Linked DNA regions of Homo sapiens: region 2 is linked to region 1. Evidence: promoter capture Hi-C in 16 types of primary human blood cells and fetal thymus (Javierre and others, 2016). All regions are on one chromosome and are shown on one strand. Each heading gives the region's core, a stretch centred on a gene start or on the middle of the fragment in contact. The rest is flanking DNA. Distances are from core to core; before and after follow the strand shown. Region 1 holds the start of FOXC1 (forkhead box C1). Region 2 overlaps GMDS (GDP-mannose 4,6-dehydratase).

What was found. The method cuts DNA at HindIII sites, captures the fragments that hold promoters and counts their contacts. A CHiCAGO score of 5 or more calls a contact.
Region 2: a contact is called between a fragment that was not itself captured here and the fragment with the promoter of FOXC1 in region 1, in 2 of 17 cell types (M2 macrophages and M0 macrophages). The highest score is 6.6, in M2 macrophages.

The regions. Positions count from the first base shown.
Region 1 is chr6:1,607,665-1,613,282 of GRCh38, forward strand. It overlaps FOXC1 (forkhead box C1), which reads left to right and starts at 2,251. Exons shown (of 1, transcript NM_001453.3): 1 at 2,251-5,618. The coding sequence starts at 2,782. The coding sequence ends at 4,443. RefSeq lists enhancers at 1-295, 3,009-3,108 and a silencer at 2,059-2,678. The HindIII fragment of the contact is 8,300 bases long and covers 1-5,618 here.
Region 2 is chr6:2,085,900-2,091,517 of GRCh38, forward strand. All of the region lies in intron 4 of GMDS (GDP-mannose 4,6-dehydratase), which reads right to left. Among named protein-coding and RNA genes, the nearest start is that of GMDS, 160 kb to the right of the region's middle. The HindIII fragment of the contact is 212 bases long and covers 2,086-2,297 here.

The sequences.
Region 1 (5,618 bases), core at 1,001-3,500:
AGCTGTTTACACTTCACTGGGCCGATGGAGGGAGGAGGCAGGGAAGAGCAGGAGGCGACAGGCTGGTGGGGGAGGGGGCAGCGGGGCACCATTGCCTGTTGCAAAACTCGGGGCCGAAGGCGTTTCCCGCATTCGGAAAACAAAGCATCCGTAATCGCTGCGTTCATCTCCGCGCACCGCTAGCAGTGTAAAAGGCAGCTTCAAGACCGAACTCACCACTTGCTGAGGTGTTCAGGGAGACCACTTAAATCTCCTCCAGGCTGAAGCCACAGCACTCCTTAAAGCCTCGACCAGGCGGGCTGATAAGACCTTCAGGGTGCCGGGCTGGGGGCTGAACAGGAATTAAGTGTTCAGGTCCTGGGGCTTCACCACCACCCTCGCCCCTGTCTAGTGTCCTTGGCAACCAGCAAGTGCTGAGCCTCCTGTTGGTGCTTCTCCAACCCACCAGTGACTTGGCCCGCAAACCACCTGGAAAAGGAGTCTCCAGAGACCCCGGCGCACAGCAGGCCAGGAGGCAGCTGCCCCGGGATTCAGAGCAACCTCGGGGCAACCCTCCCTCCTCCAAAGGCTAATTCTAGAAGAGGCAGGTCCTCTTTCCTTCGATGTCAATGTCCATTATGAAACAGTAATTTTTAAATATTCAGGTGACACGGAGATGCGCCTGCTACACGTCAGCGTCCTTCACATGTAACAGCCGAAGCTGCAATTTGAATTTTCCTGCCAACGTGAGGAAGCCGGGATTCGAACCGGGGAGACAAAAGGGGTCCCGAACATGTCCTTGGATTTAATAGATGGTCGGAAATCAGGGGCAGCGGAGCTGTTAAATGCGTCACGCACGCTTCTTCGCAGTCTCCTGAGCTCGCCACTTCCCCCAGCTTCTAGTGAACGACTTGGGATTCAGCCTCCGGGAGGGTCTCTCCTCAAGTCGCTAAAATGCAGAATCGCCGTGCCGGGGGAGGGAGGCCTGGCTCTTTCCCGCTCCTTCGTTTCTTTCCCTCATTTCTCTTCTTCCTGTCCCATTCCAACCACCCAGCGACGGCGAATCTCAGGCGTGTGCACAACGAGCGGGGGCCCTTCCGTGCGTGTCCCCCCAGAATCCTTGAACCGCCCTCTAGGTGCGACCCTGGACGTTCCCCCAGACACACCCGTTGTCTCTGCGAGCCGGCAGCCCCGCGCATGTGGAGATGGAGACTGGCCTGGGGAAGCGTTAAGCTCTTAGACATATTTATTTGCTTCTTGTCATCACACCTGCTAATGTCACCGAGCCCGCAGCCTGACCCCTCATCTGAGCCGAAACGGGCCTGACGGGATCAGAGGGGGCGGCGGCGCGGCGAGCCGGTGGGACCCTCGCGGGCGGGCAGGGGAGCGCGGGGCAGCAGCCGGGCTCCGGCAGCCCTCGCCGCCCGCACCCTCAGGCCGCCAAGGGCCGGCCCCCCGGGGAGGGGGGCGAGAAGCAGGGCGGCCCGCAGCGGGGCGGGCTCATCCTTCGCGGGTGAACGGCCGTCGGAAACTCCCAGCAGGGCCCCGCACCCCTTGCCTTCATTTCGGCTGGGGAGGGGTCATGGAGGGGGGCCAGATGGGCGACGAACCTTCTTCCCCACCGCGAGCAGGGCCTGGCTGTGACCGAGCCCTCAAAATCATGTCCTTTGTAGCCGAGTTCAGGACAGGAGAACCTCCAAGTGGAGAAAAGCCGGAGACGTCAGTGACCCGAGTGAGACTGGCGTTGGAGAAGGGAGGGAAGGGGCTGCGGGAGGGGAGAGGCGGCGGGGAGGAGAGGCTGGGGCAACCCCAGCGCTGGCGTCGGCGGGGCTGGCGAAGGAATGAGAGCGAGCCAGCACGAGGCGGGGCGGAGACGCCAGGGCCACTCGGGAGCCGTGGGCGAAGGAAGGGTCTGCACGGGGTCCCGGGAGGACCCAGGAAGTCTGCGCGAACGGCGGGCGTGGGTCCGGAGGGCCCGGGGTGGGAGGTCTGCCGGGCGCCGGCGGCAGGCAGGTGGACTGCGGGGGGCGAACCGACGGCGGGCCGGGCGCCGGCGCGGGCGCAGGGCCGGGGCCCGGGCCAGGGCGGCCGGCGCGCGTGTGGTCAGCCCCGCGGTCCTCCGGCCTCCGGGAGCGGGCCGGCAGGGCTCGGCCTCCGGCTCATTCGGAGGCGGTTCTCACCTCCCATTGGCTGCCGCCGCTGGCGGGGCGGGGCTCCGCTGCCCGGAAAAAAGTGTAACTGCGTAAAAAAGTCCTCGCCTGGGTGACGGATGCTCAAAAGTTCAGAAGTTTTCCCAATGCTTCCTTAAGCGGCTGGCGCGCGAGAGACCGAGAAAAGGTGACGCGGGGCCCGGGCAGGCGGCCGGCGCGCGGCCCCCCCCCCCCCCGCCCTGGTTATTTGGCCGCCTTCGCCGGCAGCTCAGGGCAGAGTCTCCTGGAAGGCGCAGGCAGTGTGGCGAGAAGGGCGCCTGCTTGTTCTTTCTTTTTGTCTGCTTTCCCCCGTTTGCGCCTGGAAGCTGCGCCGCGAGTTCCTGCAAGGCGGTCTGCCGCGGCCGGGCCCGGCCTTCTCCCCTCGCAGCGACCCCGCCTCGCGGCCGCGCGGGCCCCGAGGTAGCCCGAGGCGCCGGAGGAGCCAGCCCCAGCGAGCGCCGGGAGAGGCGGCAGCGCAGCCGGACGCACAGCGCAGCGGGCCGGCACCAGCTCGGCCGGGCCCGGACTCGGACTCGGCGGCCGGCGCGGCGCGGCCCGGCCCGAGCGAGGGTGGGGGGCGGCGGGCGGCGCGGGGCGGCGGCGAGCGGGGGCCATGCAGGCGCGCTACTCCGTGTCCAGCCCCAACTCCCTGGGAGTGGTGCCCTACCTCGGCGGCGAGCAGAGCTACTACCGCGCGGCGGCCGCGGCGGCCGGGGGCGGCTACACCGCCATGCCGGCCCCCATGAGCGTGTACTCGCACCCTGCGCACGCCGAGCAGTACCCGGGCGGCATGGCCCGCGCCTACGGGCCCTACACGCCGCAGCCGCAGCCCAAGGACATGGTGAAGCCGCCCTATAGCTACATCGCGCTCATCACCATGGCCATCCAGAACGCCCCGGACAAGAAGATCACCCTGAACGGCATCTACCAGTTCATCATGGACCGCTTCCCCTTCTACCGGGACAACAAGCAGGGCTGGCAGAACAGCATCCGCCACAACCTCTCGCTCAACGAGTGCTTCGTCAAGGTGCCGCGCGACGACAAGAAGCCGGGCAAGGGCAGCTACTGGACGCTGGACCCGGACTCCTACAACATGTTCGAGAACGGCAGCTTCCTGCGGCGGCGGCGGCGCTTCAAGAAGAAGGACGCGGTGAAGGACAAGGAGGAGAAGGACAGGCTGCACCTCAAGGAGCCGCCCCCGCCCGGCCGCCAGCCCCCGCCCGCGCCGCCGGAGCAGGCCGACGGCAACGCGCCCGGTCCGCAGCCGCCGCCCGTGCGCATCCAGGACATCAAGACCGAGAACGGTACGTGCCCCTCGCCGCCCCAGCCCCTGTCCCCGGCCGCCGCCCTGGGCAGCGGCAGCGCCGCCGCGGTGCCCAAGATCGAGAGCCCCGACAGCAGCAGCAGCAGCCTGTCCAGCGGGAGCAGCCCCCCGGGCAGCCTGCCGTCGGCGCGGCCGCTCAGCCTGGACGGTGCGGATTCCGCGCCGCCGCCGCCCGCGCCCTCCGCCCCGCCGCCGCACCATAGCCAGGGCTTCAGCGTGGACAACATCATGACGTCGCTGCGGGGGTCGCCGCAGAGCGCGGCCGCGGAGCTCAGCTCCGGCCTTCTGGCCTCGGCGGCCGCGTCCTCGCGCGCGGGGATCGCACCCCCGCTGGCGCTCGGCGCCTACTCGCCCGGCCAGAGCTCCCTCTACAGCTCCCCCTGCAGCCAGACCTCCAGCGCGGGCAGCTCGGGCGGCGGCGGCGGCGGCGCGGGGGCCGCGGGGGGCGCGGGCGGCGCCGGGACCTACCACTGCAACCTGCAAGCCATGAGCCTGTACGCGGCCGGCGAGCGCGGGGGCCACTTGCAGGGCGCGCCCGGGGGCGCGGGCGGCTCGGCCGTGGACGACCCCCTGCCCGACTACTCTCTGCCTCCGGTCACCAGCAGCAGCTCGTCGTCCCTGAGTCACGGCGGCGGCGGCGGCGGCGGCGGGGGAGGCCAGGAGGCCGGCCACCACCCTGCGGCCCACCAAGGCCGCCTCACCTCGTGGTACCTGAACCAGGCGGGCGGAGACCTGGGCCACTTGGCGAGCGCGGCGGCGGCGGCGGCGGCCGCAGGCTACCCGGGCCAGCAGCAGAACTTCCACTCGGTGCGGGAGATGTTCGAGTCACAGAGGATCGGCTTGAACAACTCTCCAGTGAACGGGAATAGTAGCTGTCAAATGGCCTTCCCTTCCAGCCAGTCTCTGTACCGCACGTCCGGAGCTTTCGTCTACGACTGTAGCAAGTTTTGACACACCCTCAAAGCCGAACTAAATCGAACCCCAAAGCAGGAAAAGCTAAAGGAACCCATCAAGGCAAAATCGAAACTAAAAAAAAAAAATCCAATTAAAAAAAACCCCTGAGAATATTCACCACACCAGCGAACAGAATATCCCTCCAAAAATTCAGCTCACCAGCACCAGCACGAAGAAAACTCTATTTTCTTAACCGATTAATTCAGAGCCACCTCCACTTTGCCTTGTCTAAATAAACAAACCCGTAAACTGTTTTATACAGAGACAGCAAAATCTTGGTTTATTAAAGGACAGTGTTACTCCAGATAACACGTAAGTTTCTTCTTGCTTTTCAGAGACCTGCTTTCCCCTCCTCCCGTCTCCCCTCTCTTGCCTTCTTCCTTGCCTCTCACCTGTAAGATATTATTTTATCCTATGTTGAAGGGAGGGGGAAAGTCCCCGTTTATGAAAGTCGCTTTCTTTTTATTCATGGACTTGTTTTAAAATGTAAATTGCAACATAGTAATTTATTTTTAATTTGTAGTTGGATGTCGTGGACCAAACGCCAGAAAGTGTTCCCAAAACCTGACGTTAAATTGCCTGAAACTTTAAATTGTGCTTTTTTTCTCATTATAAAAAGGGAAACTGTATTAATCTTATTCTATCCTCTTTTCTTTCTTTTTGTTGAACATATTCATTGTTTGTTTATTAATAAATTACCATTCAGTTTGAATGAGACCTATATGTCTGGATACTTTAATAGAGCTTTAATTATTACGAAAAAAGATTTCAGAGATAAAACACTAGAAGTTACCTATTCTCCACCTAAATCTCTGAAAAATGGAGAAACCCTCTGACTAGTCCATGTCAAATTTTACTAAAAGTCTTTTTGTTTAGATTTATTTTCCTGCAGCATCTTCTGCAAAATGTACTATATAGTCAGCTTGCTTTGAGGCTAGTAAAAAGATATTTTTCTAAACAGATTGGAGTTGGCATATAAACAAATACGTTTTCTCACTAATGACAGTCCATGATTCGGAAATTTTAAGCCCATGAATCAGCCGCGGTCTTACCACGGTGATGCCTGTGTGCCGAGAGATGGGACTGTGCGGCCAGATATGCACAGATAAATATTTGGCTTGTGTATTCCATATAAAATTGCAGTGCATATTATACATCCCTGTGAGCCAGAT
Region 2 (5,618 bases), core at 942-3,441, 480 kb after region 1:
TGTCATTCATTAATTCTGTGGCCTTAAGATATAAAAATTCTCTGAGCTTATTTTCTGAATAAAATGAGGGATACAATACAGATTACATCAAATTATTAAATAAACTAAAGTGTGGACACAACTCTTCACAGAGAGTGTGGCACAGGTGAGGAAACAATGGTCATGCTGGGGTTGCTCTCACTCACTGGTTTTGATTGTTTGCTCCACATGAAAACACACTGTCTCAAAAACACACCTGATTTTCTTCCAGACATGACATGTAGAACACCCCCACTAGCCATGACTCTAAATCAATCTCTGTGGTACCATTCACCCAGCAATTGTGCCTCCTGAGGCAGTAACTATCTATGTGCACTGACCTAGAGGCTGGCAGTTTCAATGAAACCCTGCCTCCCCTTTCTTCTTTTCATCCCTCTACTAGAAGCAACACTTTTGTGCTAACACACAAGTCAAAGACATTGATCTTACACAATAGAAAATTGTGGCTCACACACCTAGAATTCCCATCATTCTAATACGATACAGAGAGCTACTCTGTTAAAATCCAGACCTTTCAAGGCACACTGGCCAGGCAGCATCTCCACTTAAATCAGAAGGGAACAGCCAACCATGAGTAACCAGCATGCTGCTGCTCCTCCCCAAAGCTGCCGTTCTGCAGCTGACTCGGGGACTTCGAAACAACTTCAGTAGTGACAAAGGCTGCTCCCAGCTTTTACATACTTTTCAATTCATATAATAGACATTTCACAGAAAGTTGCTGATAGATTTTCTTCTGCCTGTGCACATCAGTTAAATGTGTTTTATTTCCCTTCTGGGCTACGTGCTGGCAGAGAATAACACAATGAAGAGGTGATAGTATGCCTTTCCAGGCCCTTTATGGCCAAGATTATGAAAGAAGGGCTTTGACGAAGAATGTTCAGGCCGACTATAATAGTTTTCCTTTTAGTGTATTATTGTTGCCATGTGTTTGCTGCTGTCTGGAGCAATAAAAAAGCTCTGAAATATTTGTCTGTGTCCTCCATAGACCCAAGAGTTTCCATAAGAGAAATCACTTGGAAAATCACAATATTGCTCCAAATAAAATATTAACATAAAAAACTTGTTGAAATGTTGAGCTAAAATACTAAAGAATTATGACCACAGCTGTAATTTATGAGGATATGAGTGCCTTCACCTCCTAAGGGCCTTTCCACTCCCACCACAGGCACATGTTTGGTATTGTTCTCACACAACATAGATGCCACCAACCAGAACGAATTGCTTTGGGGATCCTCAGAAGTTCTGACAGGATAGATTAGATGGACAAGGAAAGCTGTCATGATTCATTTCTTGATTAGATGGACACTTAGTAAACCAATAGTCAGTTCTTACAATTTTATTTGAAGAAATGATGATTACTTCTTTTGTATATGAAAATACTTTTTCTTTCTTCCTGTCATCCTAAATGTAGATTTATTTACTTAAGTTGAAAAATTTGGCCTCAAAATGTAACAAATTAATTAGTGATAATAATCTATCAGAAAGGAAGTGAGCCCAACATCAGTAACATCAATAATCTTTGAGTATTCATGAATTCTCTCTGAACTCAATCTTAACAGAAATATTCTCATTAAGAAAATCTCTAACAGAAGAGACAATTTGCACTCAGGCCCACAATTTCATCTTCACTATTCAAATTTAAGGACAGATTTCTGTGTTTATTCTCAGTACCCAGAAAAAGTAGGCACTCAATGACTGCTGTGGTAAGTAAACTTCATGTTTTAGCACTTAGCCACACGCAATTTTAGTATTGCTTGAATGTTGTTCACTTGCTTATGAACCTGAAAAATAAGTCTTGGACGTTTAGTTATCCCAAGACCTAACACAGTGTGCCTATTTGCTCTCAAATATTATCAACATCAAAGAAGTTTTTAGTTTGCCAGAATGTTAGATTGAGTGAAGTCCCTATAATCAAGGTAGATTATCTGCATTGCCCAAGTTTTGTGTCCTCAGATTTTTATAGACATTATTGCGCATCTTCTGTTGACATTTTGTTTATGCCAAGTAGGATCTTTGTTTTTCCTAACCTAAAAGGGCTGAAAGAGAAGCTTTTGACTTAACAATTAATTCAGCATTTACTTATTTTATTTGTCTACAAAGTAATATGCTCATATGCTGGAGTGGAGGAAAGAAAGGTGGCTAGAAAGGTTAAAATGAGATGTAGAAAGTAAAAAAAAAAAATGCTGTGATATAGAGTACAGATTTTACAAACAAGAATGTTATGGAAGAAAACAGTCAGTGTTTTGCTGAGATTACAAAGCTTAATTAGTGATAGCGGAGATCAGAAAAAAAATGCAATCAAGAGCAGAGTGTGGGGGATATGGGAGGTATTCAGCTAATGCTTCCAGAAATGATCTAAGTGATTCGTTTGCAAAAAGAAAGGCTAGCTAGACATTAACTTGTCTGTAAAATGGTAATAATAGGAATCTGCTTTGCCTGTATCATAGGATTGGTATAAAGACAAAAAGAGATAATACGTGGAAAGACCTGCAAACTATAATGAACCACCAGTGAATGCAGGTTCCTCCTATCAACCTCATCTTGCCTGATAACTCACACATTCTTCCAGTCTCGAAATTCCTTAAGTCTTTGGGTTGTACAAAATAAATAGTTTCCTGATCTCTCTTTTTTATTGAGATAGAAATTTTCTATGCATACTTTACTTAAAATGAATGACATTGTTACTGGCTCTGTAAATTAGAGAACACTGGTTCTTTCTGATCACAATCTTGATCCTAGAGATGAAATACTCCACCTGGCAAGAGAGGAAAATCCAGGCCTCATGTCATGCCCTAAGCATGGTTTATGTTGGCACCACTCTTTCCCTATATCCCACCACCAAGAGAGCTGAAGCTCAGATAAGATGCATAACTCAATGGGTATTGGGGATACACTGAGAAACTGAGAGCACAAAGGACAATCCACAGTGTGACAACAAGCATGTCAGAGCTGGTCCTTGTCCCTTTATCCTTGATAGAGGCAACATGTGCCAAGGGAGGCAGGTGACTGAACAGTTTTATCTGTTCTCTCTTTAGTCATTAATTCATCCAGTGAACATTTATTGGGCAGCTATTATGTGTAAATCACTACACGAAAAGCCAATGGTAATACTAAAACAAAACAAAAAAAACTAATTTCTCAAACAGCGTATAGATTCATTTAAAATACTGTTATCCAGTATGGAAATGAATGTCATGAATAAATGGTGCTCAATCATTCCCCCAGCTTCCAATACTTTTTAGTTCTTTTATCTGGGGCCAGATTACAAGGAAATCAAAAGTCATGCTCAGGAATTTTCACAGAGAAACTACTGAAGGATTGTGAGAAGAGACTTAATTAGCCTGAACCTGATTTACTATTGAATTTAGGAAGAAAAAATAAAATTAAAGTCAACTAAAAGGTTCTAACAATAGACTATTTGTGAGATGACAAGGAAGGACTTAACCAGAGCAACAGAACCGAGAACAAAATAAAATAAATGCTTCAAGAGGCCACAAAGTAGAGGATGATTTTCAATGCAAATAAAACAGCTACAAAAGTTGAAGAAGGGAGAATAGATAATAAGAAAGAAAAGAGAAGCAGAAGGAAAAAGAGAAGCAGCACCCAAAGTAAAAGAGAAAAGGAGATGTAAGAGGAGAGGTCTCATCAGACTTTTTCCTTGAGTGCCTGGTTATTTTTTACTATGTGTTGTTCACTGCTTTTGAAAACTTATTCTTGGGTCTTATTTGTGGTAACTTCCTCCAGAGAGAAATTCTGTTGGCTTGTGTCAGGAACCTAGGACTTACACAAGTTCCCAAACTCCTAAAACTAAATCCTGAGTTTAAAATGTTCTGGACTACCCAAGCAGTACGTCTTTGGATTACAGTATGCTTGAGGGTCTACTTGTGGTTACACCTTCTTAGGAATCCCCCTCCACTCCTGCTCTGCGTAGCACAAAAGTACTTTTCCTGTGGAACACGCTGGGGCCATGTGGAGAGAGGGTTTAGGCATAATTCACCATAAATCTAAGAATGTGACCCTTTGATTTCTGTGCCTTTGATCACATAGGACTGTCAAAATGAAGTTCCAGTTTGCCAAATGGGCAAATGTCCTCAAGATCAAAACAGCCTAAATTTGTAGCTTACCTCCTCTACTTTCCCACAAGTATCAGCCTGATAATGGCTTACCATGTAGTTAGTTCTTCAATTATTTTAAGGAGATTTTAAAGAATTTTATATTCTGCATTTTAGTTGTTTTCAATAGAAGATTTGATCCAAATAATCTAGCCTACCAAATTCCTGGATGTGAAACAAAACAATAAATTCAAATCTCTACACAAAAAGTGTTGTGGTCAGCCATGGAAATACCTGGTCCCAAATCCGATGGTAAAGAGTAGGAAACATGTATAAGAAATTCCTATACTTCGGAAAGAAATCAGTATCTGAAAAACTGAGGTTAACAAGTTTATCTGACGATAGTTATAAACACATTTATACACCACTAAAAACTGTTATTAGGCCATCAACCAACAGTACATAGAAAATACTCACAATGATGTATATTCTAAGTATCAACAAATCTCTTACATTTTCAAAGCAAAATTCAACCTGAATAAACAGAAATAGATTTTTTAAACTCTTAAGCTTATAAAACGACCTGTTTAAAATTGCTTTCTAGGATTCCAATCATAAGCTAGAACAACAACGACAAATCCTTGTTTCTCAATCTTAATTACAGTGGAATAAAAACCAAAAGTTTTTGGAATGGTGCTATGTTTTATACTGATACTCTTACTGTGTCTATAGTGGCATTAAATAATTTGAACGACTCTTCTGCAACTGAAGTGGAATATATGCTTTAGAGTATTGAAGAAGGATTTAGCTGAAGTTTCGAGTCTCATCACTTATTAGTTCAAACTATCAGCATAACAGAACTAAAAAGAAAAATGACACTATATTCATTATGTGATTTAAGCATAAAACACTGCCATGATAAATATTTGGAAATTCCAAGCTTTTATAAAAGCACACTTTATGTACTGTATCAGCATTCATCCCTTTAGGGTGTACACTGTGGACTGCCTCGTGGGGGGAGTTTATCTCATTTCATTTTCATTCTACATTCCACTTTTGAGTTGCCAACTAAATTGCTTCTTGGTTTATAGTATGGAAGACTTCATAATGTTTAGTTGGAATTGCTTACTTTTAAAGTACGCTGATAGAAAACCCAGTGTGGTTTGAAATATCCTCACCAGATGTTTGGATAGATGTGAAACCAACACATATCAAAAGGAGATCCAAACTACCATTAGCTGTATAATACATAGGCTCATACATTTAACAACTTCAATGGATCAAAACACATTAAAACTCTTCAGGGGAAATGAACTTAGTTCTTCCATTTTCCATTACTAGGAACTCAAATTCTATCCATCCTCTTTGGACTATCAGGATCTCAATAAATGTTAAGTGATAATGAGCTACAAGGACAGTGTAAGTAATTTAATGTGACTGGACAATGGAACAGTTTGATACGGTCACCAATACAGACTCATACTTTTAGTCTGAAAAACATAAGTTTAGTCACTAGAACAAAGAAAA